Linked DNA regions of Homo sapiens: all the other regions are linked to region 1. The links are contacts of gene promoters, found by promoter capture Hi-C in blood cells and fetal thymus (Javierre and others, 2016). All regions are on one chromosome and are shown on one strand. Each heading gives the region's core, a stretch centred on a gene start or on the middle of the fragment in contact. The rest is flanking DNA. Distances are from core to core; before and after follow the strand shown.

Evidence for each region. The method cuts DNA at HindIII sites, captures the fragments that hold promoters and counts their contacts. A CHiCAGO score of 5 or more calls a contact.
Region 2: a contact is called between a fragment that was not itself captured here and the fragment with the promoter of GPR160 in region 1, in 2 of 17 cell types (total B cells and fetal thymus). The highest score is 9.6, in total B cells.
Region 3: a fragment that was not itself captured here is called in contact with the fragment with the promoter of GPR160 in region 1 in 1 of 17 cell types (total B cells); the score reaches 5.1 in total B cells.

The regions. Positions count from the first base shown.
Region 1 is chr3:170,035,769-170,040,227 of GRCh38, reverse strand. GPR160 (G protein-coupled receptor 160) reads right to left here and starts at 2,233. Exons shown (of 4, transcript NM_014373.3): 1 at 2,013-2,233; 2 at 1,185-1,313. RefSeq lists silencers at 1,209-1,258, 1,419-1,468, 1,779-2,258 and an enhancer at 854-1,353. The HindIII fragment of the contact is 12,490 bases long and covers 1-4,459 here.
Region 2 is chr3:170,807,384-170,811,879 of GRCh38, reverse strand. The region is part of intron 2 of LOC105374211 (a long non-coding RNA gene); the gene reads right to left. Among named protein-coding and RNA genes, the nearest start is that of RPL22L1, 61 kb to the left of the region's middle. The HindIII fragment of the contact is 277 bases long and covers 1,157-1,433 here.
Region 3 is chr3:170,853,239-170,857,242 of GRCh38, reverse strand. No RefSeq gene overlaps it. Among named protein-coding and RNA genes, the nearest start is that of RPL22L1, 15 kb to the left of the region's middle. The HindIII fragment of the contact is 1,113 bases long and covers 861-1,973 here.

The DNA of each region.
Region 1 (4,459 bases), core at 984-3,483:
CCATAACCATCATCCAGCTTCAACTATTTTTATTTTTGTTTTACTTTAAGTTCTGGGATACAGGTGCTGAATGTGCAGGTTTGTTAATAGGTATACATGTGCCATGGTGTTTTGCTGCACCTATCAACCCGTCATCTAGGTTTTAAGCCCTGCATGCATTAGGTATTTGTCCTAGTGCTCTCCCTCCCCTTTCCCCCCACCCTCCGACAGGCCCCCGTGCCTGAAGTTCCCCTGCCTGTGTCCATGTGTTCTTCCCAGCTTCAACTATTAACAATCCATGAACAATCTCCTCTCATCTTGTTCCCCTCCCTTCTCTGCTAGCATCTAAAACTGAATAATTCTGAAGCAAATCCCAAAGCTGTATTTCAACTTCAGTCTGTGTCTCTACAGGGATTTTAAAAACCTTAATCAGGATACCGTTACCAAAAGTAACTAAACAGAACTATTATAATTTCCTTGATACCATCAAATAATCAGTAGAAATGTCCTTCATCGTCTCCTTATTTATTTATTTATTTTGAGACGGAGTCTCGCTCTGCCTCCCAGGCTGGAGTGCAGTGGCGCCATCTCGGCTTACTGCAACCTCCGCCTCCCGGGTTCAAGCGATTCTCCTACCTCAGCCTTCCCGAGTAGCCGGGATTACAGGCGCGTGTCACCACACCCAGCTAATTTTTGTATTTTTAGTAGAGAAGGGTTTCACCATGTTGGCCAGGCTGGTCTCGAACCCCTGACCTCAGGTGATCCACCCACCTCGGCCTCCCAAAGTGCTGGGATTACAGGTGTGAGCCACCGCACTCGGGCATCATCTCCATTTTAAAAAACATTCATCAAATCAGGATCCAACCAACGTCCACACCTTGTATTGCCACCGAATTTCTCTTAAATCGTTTTGAAACTGCACACAGGTCCTCCTCCCTGCAATTCGCATAGCAACCAAGCTGATCCTCACTGACAATTTCCAAATAACTATAATAACTCTATTCTGGAGATATCACAAGTGCCGGTCTTAGAGCTTGTCAAATGTATACATATATGTTTATATTTATATATAAATGCACAAAAGCACACAAGAAACCATTTCACTCGAAGCAATAACAATCCTGAGAGCTAAACACTCGTTCATGTCTTTTGTGATGCTTCTCGGTGGGGGTTATCTCTGGGATTTAAGCGACACTTCCCCTTACCGGAGACATTTGCGCAAGTGTAGGACGAAGCGAGAGCGGTTCCTTCCAGCCGAACCTGCCTCCGGAGGCCCGGTCCGTGCGTTCGTCTCCGGACTGCAGGGGGCGGCCCTGCCACCACCTCGAGGCCACCTGCGCAGGTGAGAAAAGGAGTTTCAGTCTCCGGGTTCCTGGGGGTGGTCGCAGGTAATCTAGAGGGAATTTTGAGCCAGCCAGGATGGTCATCCAGGAACCTACCCGGACGCAACGGCCTCGGAAAACAAATAGCCGGGCAAGGCCCTGGGGCTTAATCCCAGTGGCGGGCGCGGGCGGGGGCGCCGTCCCCAACGCTCGAGGCCAGGGGAGGGGAGGCAAAGTCGGCCCCAATGAATGCACGCACGCGCGCGCGCGCGCGTGTGTGTGAGACTATTCACCTCTGGGCGCCAGGAAAGAGCGAAGAGTTGCATACACCCATTTCTATAACCTTGCTGGGTTTGTCATGTTTAAAAAGCATCTCCCCTGGAGAGAGGGTGGCGAGTCTCTGGGTGCGGGACACGCCCATTCCCCAGACCCCCTGCCCTCAAACCCACGACAGACCCCAGTTGCTAAGGCTCCGCGGTAATCCCCATCCCGAAGCAGGAAGGCTCGGGCGTCCGGGCTCCACTCCTGGATCTCTTAAGTAGCAGAGAACCCCCAGCCCCTGAGTTCCTGCAAAGGAAATTCCTTCCCCTCCCAGGCGCGCTGAACGCCCGGCCAGGGAGGCTGGGAGCGGCGCGGGGACCGTTCGCCGCCCCGAGGCTGGGACGCCGGTGGCGAGAGCGCCGGGCGCCCTCCACCTGCGCCCGCACTCACCCGAGGATCGATGGCTGTCGGCTCCGCAAGGTTGAGGCCCCGACACCTGCAGCGCCCGTGCCCAGGTGACCGCCCGAGGGAGGGGCGAGGGCCCAGCTCGCCCGCCTGGTCCCGCCCCGCCCCGCCCCGCCCCGCGCGCTCCCGGGAGGGGCAGGGGAGCACGGCCCCGGGACCCCGCGGCGACCCTGCTGTGGCTCAGCCGGCTCCAGACCAGGAAATGCGGGCGTCAGAGACGGGCAACCTTTGAGCGCGCACGTCCCGTCCGGGCCCAACGAAACAAGGGCCGGAGGGCGCCGCCTGCCGGCGGGACGGAAAGATATCACAGAGACTGTCACCCCCCGCCGGCTAGGAGAGGGCTGAGTTGAGGCTGGCAGAGGGACGCAGCCAGGGGTGCGCAGTGCGGGAGCCGCTTGGGGGCTCAGTGAGACCCCCTTCCTCATGCCACATCTTGAGGACCCGGCCCCTGTCCTAGGAGCTCCCCATCTCCCCAGCAGGCGGGCGAGCGGGGGCCACTGGGTCAGGGCCTCTCCTTCCCTTACCTCTGCAAATGTAAACTTGGCAGTTGTCTCCAGATAAGAGTTTACACAGGGTGGCCAGGCGGTGGCTCATGCCTGTAATCCTAGCACTTTGGGAGGTCAAGGTGGGCGGATCACTTGAGGTCAGGAGTTTGAGACCAGCCTGGCCAACATGGTCCACGTTGGTCCCCATGTCTACTAAAAATACAAAAATTAGCCGGGCTTGGTGGCACGCACCTGTAATCCCAGCTATTTGGGAAGCTGAGGCACGAGAATCGCTTGAACCCAGGAGGCGGAGGTTGCAGTGAGCTAAGACCGCACCACTGCACTCCAGCCTGGGCAGCAACAGCAAGACTCCGTATCAAAAAAAAAAAAAAAAAAAAAAAAAAAAAAAAAAAAGAGTATACACAGGGTGACAGAACTTCTTGAAACTTGTATGCTTCTAAGCAACCGCCTGCAGTGTACTGTGAATTCAGATTTTTAAATAAAAATCTGCAAATATTAAATAGCCCATATATTGCATTGCCTTTTTTGTGTCAACAGTGCTAATTTGTTGTCATTCAACAAATATTTGTTGAGCACCTACGACTTGCCGGTCATTTAAACATTTAAAATATCGAACAATTAGGCCAGCGCAGTGGCTCAAGCCTGTAATCCCAGCACTTTGGGAGGCCGAGGCGGGTGGATCACTTGAGGTCACGAGTTCAAGACCAGCCTGGCCAACATGGTGAAACCCTGCCTCTACTAAAAATACAAAAATTAGTTGGGCGTAATGGCACATGCCTGTAGTCCCAGCTACTTGGGAGGCTGAGGCAGGAGAATGACTTGAACCCAGGAGGCAGAGGTTGCAGTGAACCAAGATCACGCCATTACACTCCAGCCTGGGCAACAGAGACAGACTTCATCTGAAACAAATAAAATAAAATAAAATATTGCACAATTTCTTCCTTCTCCTCTTCACGCAGAGCCTTGAACAAGGGGAGTGTCCTGAGCCTCTCAACCTCTCTGAGTGTCATAGCAGTTAGAGATTAAAGATGACCATGTCCATACACGTTTGTATCTCTCCACAATGTCAGTCTTTTTTTTTTTTTAAATGCTATTTCAATCACAAAATCCAGGAGCTACATGGAGTTCCCAAGGAGGCAATTCTCCTTAGTCCTTCCCATTCACTCTGTAGTCAGAGCACATAGGTTCAAGCCACTCCATAAGTCAGTAAATATTGCAAACCATACATACTAGTATACTTAATCACTATACGAATGTTGTAGATTAAACATTCCACAACAAAGTAATATTTAACATCAAGACGAAGAAGAGGAGAAAGGGTTAATGAACCAGTCCAAAGGGAGGGAAGAAGACAAAGGGAGTCCTGGTCTGGGCCTGGTGGTCTTGCAAGGAAGAGTCTTTGATGTGGCAGAGCTTTCGGTGGCAAATTCTGAGTTCTTATCATGAGTGACTGCAAGACGGTGTTAGTGAAGACAGCCAAGCTGAAGGCTTCGCTCTTTTACAGTCAGAGGGTCCTCTGGTGAGAACTTATAGTGGATGAGTGTGCTTGTTTGTGTTCTTTTTTAAAATTTGTTCGTCAAGCAAAACATCTTATCCTTGTTAGCAAAGTGCCCATGAAATATAAAATGGAGGGTTTTTCTAAGATGGAATTAGTTACCTCAAGGGTGGTTTATACACTGAGAGTCTGGACTAGCCTTGCAAGGAACTCAGTAATTGCCCAAGGGTGCAAGAAGAACCCTGATAGAATTAAGTGTGGGTTGCTAGGGAGACTGAGGAGCAGCTTCACCTGGCCTGGAGTGGCAGAGAGAACTTCCTGGAGAAGTGCAGAGGCCAACTGAATCACAGAGGAGTACCGGGTTCAACGGGATGTGAGGTGCTTCCGCCAAGATTCCAACGTGTGCAAAGTGGGAAGTGGAAAGCCAGGCA
Region 2 (4,496 bases), core at 46-2,545, 770 kb before region 1:
TTCACTTTAAGATAACTTTCTTTCGTGGGCATTAGAAAAAGGGCATGTTTTGCATCACGAGGGAGAGCGTTTTACGCGCATGCACACACATACTAAACAGACACACCTACTGACTTAAAAACATCAACACACTGTCTGAATATTGCTTCAGGTTGGAAAACAAGGTTGCATCCAAATTGTGTCATCTTTTCAAAATACAGCTGGAGAGAAAATGCTGCCTATATTTCAGGGAGCTTTTAAATTTCAGTGACATACCAGTCTAGGCTGCCAAAAGCTAGAAGAACATGAGTCATCAAGCTAGGTGCACTGATCATAGGAAACACCAGGTCTCAGGCTCCAGCCATCCCCTATCCTCTTCCCTACCCCTACACAAATTTGTGGCTTGTGGCCAGTACCAGGATTTGCTGTTAGTCCCCATGTTCCCGGGGCCTCCTTTCCTCTAAGGTCTTCCAGCCATTGTAACTGGCTTTCTTCCCTTTTATACCTAATAGAGAACTGCTGAGGGCCTTCTTCTTTGTATTTGGGATTATCGGATCAAAAGATTGAAAGTGTGATTGCCAGGTTCTCCCAGAGCGTCCTGCATCCAGATTTGCCACCCTCATCTCATCTGCAGGAGGTGACAGTCAGAAGCAGAAGTTAGACCATGGGCAAGGGCCCTAAAATATTCATTAGGCAAAAGCAAGAAAGCTTGCCTGCCATTGGGGCAGGTGTTGGGCTTGAAACGTTCAGTGTCATTATCTCATTTAATTTTTACAACAATCTGCCAGTTGCTATTACCACCTCCATTTTACAGATAAGGAAACCGAGGACCAGAGAAGCTAAGTACCTTCATATAGATCTGGGATTTAAATTCAGGCATTCTGACTTAAAATTGAATGTATTTTTTAGTCCTAGCTACAAAGCCACTGTCTACCAGAACTACTTGAAATCTCCTTCCCTTTTCTCTGGCTTCTCCTTGTAATTGAGGATCTTACATTGGCAATGGTTATATGAATGATGACGATGATAATTACAATACCAGCTAACTTTTACTGATTACTTACTATAGGCCAAGCAATGTGCTCAACACCAAACTTTTATATCTTCAATTCTCACAGAAAATTTACCGTGAAGTTAGTATTTTTACTGCCATTTCATAGATGAGGCACCTGAAGCTTAGGAATGTTAAGAAATTTTTGCAAGATTACACACCCAAGTAGAGCCTGGTTTGGAACCTAGGTCTAATTGCCCCTAAGCCCGAGTATTTAAACCACTATGCTATACTGTGCATAGGGAGATAATTGAATCTATGGAGAAATACTCAGGGCTATAGTACTACTAATCAGACCTTTAAAAACTGAAAGAATAGTGAAAAGGGGTATAGTCATATCTTTATGTGGCATGGTATAATGATGAAGCTGGAAAAGAGTGCTTACATTCTAAAACAGGAAGCTTTCTAACCTTCCCTGCTTAGAAAAATAATCAACTCTGATTATTTCCATGTATTCTGTTCTTGAATTGGAAATTCCAGGAGTCTGGTTTTAATTGCATAGGAAGTCAACCTGGACTGTTATTGTTTGTCAGGAGTCTGTTTTATCATTTTTATGGTCAAGCAATGGACTTCATCACTAGGGATTTAGTTCATGTGTGTTTCTGTTTCAATGGATACTATCAAGTAATTAAGGTTGAGGGAATGAATGGCTACTTTATTGCTAAACGCTAGCATCTGGCTATAAAATGAGGAAAGAGGGAGTGGTCAGGGGAAAGTGGAAGTATGACTAACACTGAACTTCAGTTAATAGATCTGGACACATTGAACCTGAGTAAATAGGTCTGATATTCTCCTGCTTGCAATGCTGGGGATGAAGTAGATGAGCTCCTTCTCACCAGCACCTTGAAAAGAATCAGATATTAAACTAGAACTCAGCAACTACTCAGTATTATTGGAGTAATATTTTTAAACCCAAAGCATTTGAGTAGTTCCCTAACAATATTTCAAAGAACAAACAAAAAGATGTGTTCATCAGCAAGGTCAGATGTGTATCATCTGAATGCCTGCACTGTGAATAGCTCTGCTAATTGGTGAGCTGAGCATGAAGTGACTTGGATGATTAATTAAGGAGATAGGCCTTGAATAGGACGGAGGTGCATGGCCATTGTTGAGCACCTAAGGCAACAGCCTAAGGAGGAAAACTCACTGAAATTCCCTAGGTGGCAGCAGTGAACAAGGCGTTAGAAGGCCCCGAGGATGTGACAGCTCAGAGAAGGAGTATCTTCTAGGGGTCCAGGAGAAGCTGGATTTGCCATCTGGTTTAAGATTTTGAGGTGGGTGGAGATGGGTGTGGGAATGGGAGACAGTGTAGCACAGCGAAGAGTTAGAATCAGTAAGCCTTCTTAGTCCAGCTCTGCCGATCACTGGCTGTGTGGCCTCGGGACAACTGTTCTGTCAGCAACCTCCACCCACCCCCATTTCCTCCTCCCACAAATGGGGCTAGGTGAGGTCATCCCTGGGTACCTTTTGGCATTATATGATTCACAATTTGATGATGCCTCTGGCATTTTCATTGCACTCTTTACAATGAAAGAACTTGATTACCTTGGTTGGGACGTGGAGGAGAGGGTTGTATGTGTGTATTCCAGAGAGATGCATTATGCTACTGTCTTTTTAGCAGTGTTCTCTGTCTGGAGAATATGCTGATCTTTGCAAACTAGAACAATATTGTTGTCCTACCATTAGCGCAGGTAGGTTTTATATGGTTGACATAATTCGCTCACCTATCGCGCACTCTCAACCGTACGCCCTTGCAGTCCCGCAGCTGTGCTCATAAGGGACAGAGCTTTTTAGCACTCTCTTCCAGCCAACTGAGTTTTTGGCTATGTCTTGGTAGTTATAATATCTTTGTTCTTTTTACGTGGTGCCAGGCACTTTGTTAAGCCCATAATACCTCACAAACATACAGCTCTTTTATTCTACCTTCAAGTAGCTTTTAATTATCTTTGTTTAAACAAACCAATCTCTCAAACCCAATTCACCTTAATAATAACTAATATGTACAAATGTTTATTATGTGCCAGGCATATATGTGTGTCCTGAATATGTTATTCTATTTAACCCTTAAAATAAGCCTATGGATTAATACTAGTACTTTACATTATCTGTAGATGGAAATTGAGGCCTAGAGAGGTTAAATAACTTGCCCAAGGCCACAAGACTGATACACAGCAGAACCAGGGTTTGAACCCAGGAAGTCTGTCTCTAGGATCCTCCAAGACACTGCACTTGAAAAAGGGCTAGTGATTTATGCACATGGCTTCTTTTCTTCTCCACTAGATTAAATATAGGTTTTTTTGTTTTTGTTTACTTTTTCAATTTGTTAATTTGCTACAGAGACACTGTATTAGTTCGTTCTCACACTGCTATGAAGAAATACCCAAGACTGGGTAATTTATAAAGACATGAGGTTTAATTGATTCACAGTTCCGCATGGCTGGGGAGCCCTCGGGAAACTTATAATCATGGTGGAAGGCACCTCTTCACAGGGCAGCAAGAGAGAGAATGAGTGCCAGCAGGGGAAATACCAGACATTTGTAAAACCATCAGATCTCATGAGAACTCCCTCACTATCATGAGAACAGCATGGAGGAAATCACCCCCGTGATTCAATTGCCTCCCACCGGGTCGCTCCCACAACATGTGGGGATTATGGGAATTACAACTCAAGATGAGAACTGGGTGGGGCCATAGCCAAACCATATCAGACACTCTGATTTAATTTTGTTCTCTTCCTAGGATCTATAGTTTGGGAATGTCATCACAATAACAAATCCCACCACCACCTCACTAAGATAATTTGTCTCCCCACTAACATTTATTTTAAAAGTCTTTTTTTTTTTTTTTTTTTTTTTGAAACAGTGTCTCGCTCTGTCACCTAGGCTGGAGTGCAGTGGCACGATCTCGGCTCACTGCAAGCTCCGCCTTCAGGGTTCACGCAATTCTCCTGCCTCAGCCTCCCGAGTAGCTGGGACTACAGGCACCCGCCACCACGCTTGGCTAATTTTTTTGTATTTTTAGCAGAGATGGGGTTTCACCATGTTAGCCAGGATGGTCTCGATCTCCTGACCTCGTGATCCACCCGCCTCAGCCTCCCAAAGTGCTGGGATTACAGGCGTGAGCCACCGCACCTGGCCAAAAGGTTTTTTTAAACCTATAGTAGAGGTTGGAGACAGTTATTTTTTGTGTGAGTTTGTGTGTATGTGTGTGTGCATGTGATTGCCAAGGAAATAGTCGCTGAAAAATGGAGAAACACCTTGATGAAAAAAAGGCAGACGCCTTTGGCAACACGTTGCAGGGTATCTGCCAGGGGAAGTTATAAGGATACAAGAAAAGAGATCCATGGCTTGAATGAGTTATTTGCAACAGGGCACAGAGATGAGAAACAGTGAAGAAGACACTGAACGGCAGGAAAGTCAACTGTGGAGTCAAAGGTACCCTCTTGAAAGAATACAGCTGGAGTCCA
Region 3 (4,004 bases), core at 168-2,667, 820 kb before region 1:
GACTTACAGGTCAAAAGATAAATGAATGTGTAATTTCTAGATATTGCTGAATTTCCCTTTACAGGGGTTGTAGCATTTTGCTCTCCCACTAGCCTTCCCACCAGCAATCTGTGAAATCTGTTTTCCTGTAGACACACCAAGAGATAACCTTGTCCAATTTGAGGCTTAACTGACAGGTGAGACCTGGTTTTCAGGGTAATTTTCCTTTGCATTGTATTTGTGAGTGAGGTTGAATGTCAATAAGGGTCATTTGCATATCTTTCTCTGTGAGCTGCCTGTTTATATCTCTAATATATATCTGTGGAATTCTTGTTTTTATTTTTAATTTTTTACTTTTAGAAGCTCCCTCTATGTTAAGGCTATTAACTCCTTGTGTGTGATGTAAATTACAATTTCTTTTTTCAGCTTCTCATTTGTCTTTTTCCCCTACTTATGGTATTTTTGTTTTTTAACTTTTTTTTGAGACAAGCCCTTGCTCTGTTGCCTAGGCTGGATCATGGCTCACTGCGTCCTTGACTTCGTAGATTCAAGCCATCCTCCCACCTCAGTCTCCTGAGTAGCTGAGACTACAGGCACACACCACTACCTGGCTCATTTTTTAAAAAATTTGGGTAGAGATGGGGTCTTGCTATATTGCTCAGGCTGGTCTTGAATTCCTGAGTTCAAACAATCCTCCTGCCTGAGCCTCCCAAAGTGCTATTATTGCAGGTGTGAGCCACCATACCCAGCTGCTATTTTTCTTTTGTTTTATTACTAGTTTTCATTTTGTTTTGTTGTAGTTGTTGCTATAGAAGCATTATTTTTATTTTTATGTAATTAAATCAATTAACTTTTTTCTTATTGCCATGGTTAGAAAAGCTTTCCCCGTTATCAAGAATTCATTTATGTTTTCTGCTAGTACTTACATATTTTCATCTTAAAAAAATGTAGGTCTCTATTCTATTTGGAATTTATCCTGGTTTACAATTTGAGAAGTGGATCCAATTATACCTTTTTCCCATGTGACTACCCACCTATACCATTACCCCTGATGAAAAAGTTCCCAGGAAGTTTTGCTTAGCATAGGTTTTCCTACTTACTGTCTGGAAACCCTTGTATGTGGTCATGCTGAAGGGACTGGAGTCTAGATATATAGCTTCAGTGTGTGCTCTTTTACAAGCTGGATGATTAAAATGCCAGGAAGGCCAGTTTTAAACAATGTGTTGCATTTACAAATGGCTTTCTCTTTTCTTTTGATCCCTTAACAGCCCTCTGTGGCACAATATTATCTTCCCATTTTTCAGATGAAAAAACCAGGTCTCAGGTTTACTGGCTTGCCCATGGTCACACCATGGCACCCACCTCTCACTCCTCACCCAGTGCTCCTCCCACACACGGGGCCATGTCACACATCCTGCCTCTCTGTTGCCTACTAGCTTTGTGACCTTGGACACATCTCTTCACCCTCTGGGCCTCAGTTTCCCCTTCTGTATATAAAGAAGTGGTTAAAAATAGGTCAGCATTTCTCGGGCTTTAGTAACACCTGCTTCCTTTTGATAAACACAGATATTTCTCATGTTCCTTGTTCCCAGTTCCAATTGCCACCCTGTGATATAACTGATGCATAAATATCCCCACCAACCAAGGTATTTTGGGGCTTTCTATTCTGAAACAAAACAAAGTAAGATTTTTGGGATAATTTTCCCACTATAAACTCATAATATTGGATATACCTTTTTTTTTTTTTTTTTTTTTTTTTTTTTGAGACGGAGTCTTGCTGTGTCGCCAGGCTGGGGTGCAGTGGCGCAATCTCGGCTCACTGCAACTTCCGCCTCCCAGGTTCAAGCGATTCTCCTGCCTCAGCCTCCTGAGTAGCTGGGATTACAGGCCCACACCACCACACCTGGCTAATTTTTTGTATTTTAGTAGAGATAGGGTTTCACCAGGTTGGCCAGGATGGTCTCGGTCTCCTGACCTCATGATACACACAAGCTTCTTGAGAGTAACATACTTCCCCCATGATAAGGCTTTTTTTTTCTGTCCTAAAATCCTATGAGTTAATGAGCCAAACTGGGAATCATGATCTGCTATCTCAATTATGATGGAATAGATATGTTTTCTCCCAAGGGAGGGAACACTGCAACTCCTCTCTCCCTCTTTCTCTGAGATGGGGAGGTGTGAATTACAGATTCCATACATGTCACAAATATATGGTCAATGATTTCTGCCTTGGCAGTCGCAGTCATGGGAGATGATGGGTGAGTTATATATACTCTCTGCACTCAAGGAAATCCCAGTTCTAACGAGGGGAGCAAATGTGGGTACAAATGACTTTAGGTAAGTGTGGTTCATGCAGTAATAGAGATATTACAAAATGCTTTAGAAGCACCAATACCATAATGAGTGGGAAAAGGAATCCAAGAAGGCCTTCTGCAGGAGGTGGCTTACCCTGACTTCTCTTTAAGGAAGAATGGGAATTGATGGGGCAGAGAAGAAGAGGGAGAGAATTCCAGGCTGAGGAGGAATGGTGATAGTGGCTACTACTCATCGAAGGCATCTGTTTTGGAATCTTTACATACTACATCTCATTTAATTTCCACAGCTACCCTTCAAGCTAGTTATTAGTCCCCTTTTACAAATCAGAAAACCAAGGGCTTAGAGTGCTAAACAGTCGGTCTACGGCCACACAGCTAATAAGTTCCAAATTGGAATTTAAATTCAGATCTCTCTGGCTTCAATGCTCATGCTCTGTAAATGCTTTAGTGTAAAAAAATGTTTCTAAATTTCTCCCTGCCAGGCAATCTTTTCTCACAGTGATGCACATTCAGCTGGCTCCTTAGGAGAACCAAGCCTAAGAATAATCTAGCTTTTGAAGAGAACCAAGCTTCTTTTTTCCTCTTCTGGAGAACCACAAACTGGCTTAACAGAGGGCTCTCTGACGCACAGTTTTATTGTAAGAAGGCCAGTCACAGGAGACGGCCTACTGCCTTCAAGAAACAGCATGGAAGATTCCTTATTTCATCACCCCTGTACTTTTCATTGAGGTATGAAACAGACTTTTCCAATGAGACTTTTTCTCTCCTATTTCAGCTGAGACTCCAAGAACTGAGAACAAAATTAAGGTGCCAAATATTCCCACATTCCAAATCTATGCAGAGCTTACAAAGGAGGTGCTCCAGCTCCAGTTTTCTAAGACTTAGTTCATTTCCTACTTCCAGGACACATGAGAAATTGAAGACTTTTAGGCATTTGACTCATCCTTGAGAAAAACTAAGGCAAAGGCAGTGGCTGGAGCAGTTTGCCTACGGGAGAGCAATGAGGGGTACATTTCCATAGCTACAAGGAGGCACAGGTGCTTCCCCTGGACCAGATGTAGTCCACAGATGTAGTGCACGGGGAAGGACCAGGCTTGGGTTGAGTTCTTGTTCACCTAAGAGGACTGCTTGGGAGAGAAGTGGGACCCCAAACAGAAAGAGTCTGTGTATAAGGGACAACCACATGCTCAGGAGCTACAGGTAGTGAGTGAAGATCCTGAGAAATGGCATTGCTTATGTCACGAATGTTGCAGCAAAAGATTCTCTGTGATAAATCTTTGAGAAATCCAGAAATGTATACTTCAAGAGAAAGAAGAAGCCTTGAACTTTCTTCAAGCCCAGAAAGCCACATCACCAAACTGTAGTGGTGGAGACAGACCTTTTCTGTCCCTTCCTTTTGCCTCCCAGACCCTGCTCATTTCAAGGCCAACCCCAGAGAAGCCAGAGGCAGCCTATTGAAGTTGGAGGAGGTACACACCTTGGAATTCCCTGGTACACAAACTAATACCACTGCCTTTTTGTTTAAGCTATATCATAAACATTCTGACACTTTGACAGAATTTTTGGTTTATTTGTTTTCCTCCCTCACTAGACTGTAAATACTTCGAGGCTAAAAACCAGGTCAAATTTATCTCTGTGTGCCTTTCTGGGTAAGCAAATCCATATAACTACAAAAGAATCCCAAGTCAGATAATTAGTAACATTACCTTT